Linked DNA regions of Homo sapiens: region 1 is linked to region 2. Evidence: promoter capture Hi-C in 16 types of primary human blood cells and fetal thymus (Javierre and others, 2016). All regions are on one chromosome and are shown on one strand. The core of a region is centred on a gene start or on the middle of the fragment in contact, and the rest is flanking DNA. Distances in the headings are between cores, read along the strand shown. Region 1 has its middle 64 kb from the start of NEUROG2-AS1. Region 2 holds the start of MIR302CHG (miR-302/367 cluster host gene).

What was found. The method cuts DNA at HindIII sites, captures the fragments that hold promoters and counts their contacts. A CHiCAGO score of 5 or more calls a contact.
Region 1: a fragment that was not itself captured here is called in contact with the fragment with the promoter of MIR302CHG in region 2 in 1 of 17 cell types (neutrophils); the score reaches 5.0 in neutrophils.

The regions. Positions count from the first base shown.
Region 1 is chr4:112,449,963-112,452,662 of GRCh38, forward strand. No RefSeq gene overlaps it. Among named protein-coding and RNA genes, the nearest start is that of NEUROG2-AS1, 64 kb to the right of the region's middle. The HindIII fragment of the contact is 9,571 bases long and covers 1-2,700 here.
Region 2 is chr4:112,648,607-112,651,306 of GRCh38, forward strand. MIR302CHG (miR-302/367 cluster host gene) reads right to left here and starts at 1,445. Exons shown (of 3, transcript NR_146092.1): 1 at 1,386-1,445. It overlaps LARP7 (La ribonucleoprotein 7, transcriptional regulator), which reads left to right. Exons shown (of 13, transcript NM_016648.4): 9 at 929-1,080; 10 at 1,855-1,976. RefSeq lists an enhancer at 265-987. The HindIII fragment of the contact is 6,288 bases long and covers 1-2,700 here.

The DNA of each region.
Region 1 (2,700 bases), core at 16-2,515, 200 kb before region 2:
ACACAAGCATCTGAGTGGCTGGCCCCTTTGCCCCACTATAGACAAGTTAGCAGGATCTTTCCATGAGTATAGATAAAGATTAAGAGCAATGGACCCTGGAAGTCTTTGAAATATGCCATGTGCCAAGACTCAAAACTATAAATTGTTCTGCCAAAGGCATCTGAAAATGTCAAAGTCCTAGGATGTTGAGCCAAGTATTAAGGAAGATGATCTGAGAAGGAGCTGGATATTAGAGAGAGCTCCACTATTCAGCATGATCTTGATAACCTGCCACAGAATCGACCTGACTTCATCCCCTCCTGCCTTGTTTCCTCCCTCCATCCCTGTGGCATGGTCTGCACTGTCTAAGCTGATCTGGAACACCCACTCAACAAAAAGCTATCCCTAAGCATCTTTAGACAACCTATAAAAGCGAATTAAACTTGGCATCTCTAAAACTCTGCATTGCCAAGTATCAACTTTTATTACACTCAACTCTTGGTTATGAGAGGGGAGGAGGGAAATGCAAAGAATCACAAATAAGACTATTGTTTAAGATGCATCCTATTTAGGCCAATAACAAATTTTTGTTGCTAGTTAGTGGCTACGTAGTAGTTGATGATTGGGAAACAGACAGCTCCAAATTGTTCCAGATGCCAAGAGAAGGCCAGACTTTGTCATCAATAACTTAAAAATTAGATTGAGATACAGCTCCAGACGCGTTAAGCGCATTGGTCCTTTGGCATTTGTCAACTGCTTTACCTCCTTGTGCTAAAAATGCCATGCTCAGAACATCCACCAACAACAGTGTAGCTCAAATGCTAAAAAGATAACTAAAAAATATACTTTAGGAAAGTTAATGTTTTATAAATTGTAACAATCATTCCAGTTATCAAGAAAATATTGTTTCCAAGAAGCATTTTATAAGTTGGCACAACAGACCCATGGAATGGCCAGGAGGGAGTAGAAACCTTTCTAAGTGATTTATTGATTTACTATAATGTTTTCCACTGGAAAGATTAATGATATATTCCACTTTGCTGAAAATTACTTCTCTTTTGCTCCTGCAAAATAATCCTAGAGTTATTTTCTCTTTCGGACCCTAACAAAATTATATTTCTTACAGAAAGACTGAGAGAGCTACAGGCATCTAACTCTAAACGCAAAGTGTGATCTTTAAAGAAATACACTCACTTTTTTTTCTTTTTTTGAGAAACTGTTTAAAAATCCAGACTGTGAAAGGCTGCTTCTCAGTGAGAAAGGTCACTCTGAGTGCAGTGTCCACAACATTAACGAGAAATGACCCTTGTCATCACTCTCAGCATGGGAGACAGAAGAAACAAATGAAAAAACACACCCAAAAGATGGTTTCTAGAACAGACCACTTGGATAATAGATGAGACACTGTGCTCGTGGATCACATGGGCCTCCAGAGGCTTTGTTCCCACTGTGTATTATGGTATGCTGGGTGGCTTCATGTTGACAAAACTACGGGAACTTCAGGGTCTCAACCGGACCACCATCCCAAAGTGATGAAAATGTTGTCTAACTTCAAAGTTTAAGAATACTTCCTTAGTAACATGTTTCCAGTTTTAAAGTTGTATTTTCTTGATCACACTTCTTTCCCATGCAATCTTTTAGGGGAATAAATCAAGTGAAATATTTTTGTCCTATGATGGCCACACAATATTCCTCCCTGTTATGTAGCTGTTGGTGAGAAGGACTTCGGTAAGCACAATGAACTTTGTTCTTGCCACAGCAAAGAAAGAGTTAAATTCTAGACCCAGCTGATCCCCTGCCAGCAGGGATGTGGAGGAAAGAGTGGGTGCTCACTTTTCTCCCCATATTACCCAAATGCCTCTTTTATGCCCCATCCCCATCTTCTACACTCTCCTCTTTCTCGCTTTCTAAGGAGAAAAAATTGAAATTTAGAAACAAAGAATTCCGACACTCTGAAGTAATTCACGGGGCTTCACTCACTTTCAGGTCTTTCCTTTTCAGGGCAATAGTTTTTAGACTCAGCTGGTGATTAGGTCCTCTCTAGTTCTACCGCAGTCACTCTCACTAGGCCTCCTTGAAGGGGAGTGTCTGGTGAAATCAGACAGGAATAGTCCCAGCTCTGCTGCTCACTAGCAGAGTGGCACTGAGCAAGTTGCCTGGCCTCTTTACAGCCTTGGAGTGCCCATATGTAAAACAAGTATAAAAATCCCTACCTGGGTTTTGCTGTGAGGATTAGAGGTAATGCCTATGAAGGACTTAGCACAGTGGCTGGCACTCTTTGGTGTTCAAAGATAGGGTTTTTGTCTCTACTAAAAATACAAAAATTAGCTGGGTGTGGTGGCACATGCCTGTAATCCCAGCTACTTCAGGGGCTGAGGCAGGAGAATCGCTTGAACCTGGGAGACGGAGGTTGCAGTGAGCCAAGATCACACCACTGCACTCCAGCCTGGACAACAGAGCGAGACTTCCTCTCAAACAAAACAAAACAAAGATAGGGTTTTATTGTCATTATTACCCCAGCTGTTTTTCTGGTGTAGTCCTGATGAATTCATTTATTCAGTCCCACTCTCACCAACTGTGGCGGCCAAGATTAGTTAACTGCATGTGAACCCAGAATCTCCCCCAGACAGAAGGAGCAAACTTGGACCTAGGGATAAGCCATTTCTGATCAGGGTAGGGAGTGGGAAGTGCAAATAATAACAGTAACACTAACAATTATAA
Region 2 (2,700 bases), core at 195-2,694:
GAAAGAAAACAAAATGGCATAACTTTAGAAGAAAAAAATTTTTTTACCTTCCTGAACTAGTTCCCAAAGATTCGTGTTCTCCTCCAGAAGGGTAAAAGGCAGGGACTTCAGCCACTTCTATTTATACTATTCTTAACTCTTGAATTCCTTTTGCCTTTTTATCTCAGAGAATCATTACAAGGGCCTTTTGTTATTTTAATGTATCAGCTCTCAGGGAATGTATGATCCTGGGTGGGTCTGGATCCTTTTTTTTTTTTTTGAAGTATACAGATGTCAATGTTAACAGCTAAAACCATTACCACAAGATATCTTCCTCTTAAAAAAAAAAAAGAAAAAGAAAAAGAAAATCTCCTATCTGCTTGTTTGATGGCATAGATTAGGGTAACAATGAGTGCTCCCACTGAGCCGAGAAAGGCATTGTGTTTCTATCTGGAGGAACTCTGTTTGAAGAAGCATCTACATGTTAAATGTATGTAAATAAATAGATTGCTTCCACGGGGTGTTTTGTTCTACTTAGAAATTCTTTTTGATTCAAGTAAATACTAAGGAATGTTATCTCTCAAATTGGAAGCAGTTTAACAAATCTTTAATCTCGCCCTTTTCCCACAGAGATGACTGATTTAGTAAATGTTACTAGTTAAGGAATTAATGCTAAAATTTTACTTTTATAAATTAAAATACTTCAGACACTCAAAAATTTAATTGGCAATCTTAAAACATTTAATCTGAATATTGGGGGAAGAGGAACTCCCTTAGCTTATTTTGCTAAATGTCTTTAGAACCTAGGAAATATTTTGAATATGTGTTTAAAGAAACAGGAAAGTTGGTGGAGGAGTTGCTCCAAGTCATTGTGAATGTATATATTTAGATATTTCCCTATTTACTTTTTATATTTAGTCATCTGTTATCACCATTTCTTTCCTTGTAGGAGCGAATGGATGGATTTGAAAAAAGAGTATTTAGCGCTACAAAAAGCTAGCATGGCTTCTTTAAAAAAAACAATATCCCAAATAAAATCAGAGTCAGAAATGGAAACAGACAGTGGAGTACCTCAAAACACTGGAATGAAAAATGAAAAAAGTAAAGATCACTGATAGTTTTGACAACATTATAATGTACTTATATATGTAAATGCTATCTCTGAGTTGTTATAAGATAAATTTTAATTTTAAAAAACTTGATTATTCTATTTCATTATTAGAACAATTCTTGATTTGTTAAGTTATCCAGATGTGTTACTTACTCTTGATATAAGAATATTTAAAAGGCTCATTTAAAACAATTTTTTAAATAACCTGAGTTTTCTCTACAGTTTTCATCAAGCACATGAGTGCAGAGTTTGCAGACTGAGCAAGTTTGTAGGAATGAAGATTGTAGTTTCTCACCTGTTAATTTCATTCTGTAGTATGCACCACAAGCAGGAACAAGTTAAAGCAGAATTCCTATGAATTCAAAATTAGGATACATTTTAAATTCTCATTTCTTGTAAAAATAAATGTTCACGTTTGAATAATAATGTATTTAAAACACAGTATCCTTTAACTTTTTTTTAACTTTATTGAGTAAAAATTTACTGTTCCTTTGTTCAGGGAGAAGGGGCAAATTTAAAGGCTTTACGAATGCTCTTCTAGCAGTAACAATTTGCATGTAGAATAATAAAACTTTCTGAGTTTTATTCATGGTATTTTGAAATAAGCAGTATGACATATAACCTTTAATTGTTTACTTTAAAATTAAATACGTTTTAAATTATTTAAATCTGCCTCAGGAATTATTCTAAGGTAGTCCTCCTAAGTATTAAATTGTTGTTAAGTGTAAGAGATTTAGTCCTGGTCTTTTTCCTTTTCTAATCAGCAGCCAACAGGGAAGAGTGTCGCACCCAGGAGAAAGTTAATGCAACAGGACCACAGTTCGTGAGTGGAGTGATTGTGAAGATCATTAGCACAGAGCCTCTACCTGGCAGGAAACAAGTCCGGGTAATGATTTTGAGCCCCTAGGGTATTTGTTCCTTTCTTCTCTTATTATTTCCCTGTGTGAAAATGTTTTGAATATGGAAGATAAAACAAATCAAGTTAGAATTTGTTTCCCTATGGTAAACTACTGTACAGTTTTAATTCCATGGTAACTCTTAGGTTTAATTTTGAAGCAAAATCTAGAGGCTGAAATTCCTCACTAAATCTATATGTAAGCACAGTTTAAACATCCTTCTCTATAGGAAAATTGTAACTTTTGCTTATTTTTATTGGCACTGATTTTTTTTGTATTACCTATGTGCTGATTATCTTTAAAATTTTAATTATAGAAAAGTAAAATATTTTTGAAAACCTCTTAAAATTTTTCACGCATGTGCCAAAAAACCCATACTTCTATATAATTTACGCTACAAATTGCTGTACATACAGGTTTATAATTTTTTCGCTTTATACAGTCTATCTTCTGTAGCCTTTTATACCACATTGGTAGCAATACTTTCTATTAGGGAAATTATATACTTTTAGGTGAGAGTACCATATCTTATTTACCCTTACCCTGCCTGTCACCCATTTAAGTGAATCCTTTTCTTTTTAAAAAGTGTGAAATGCTCTGTAACATACCACATATTTTAAGTATTTTCTTATACTGACATTCATCATCACTTAGTATGTTGTTTTGGTTTTACGTAGACTCATCAGTCACAGGTTTTAACTTGAATACCATTGA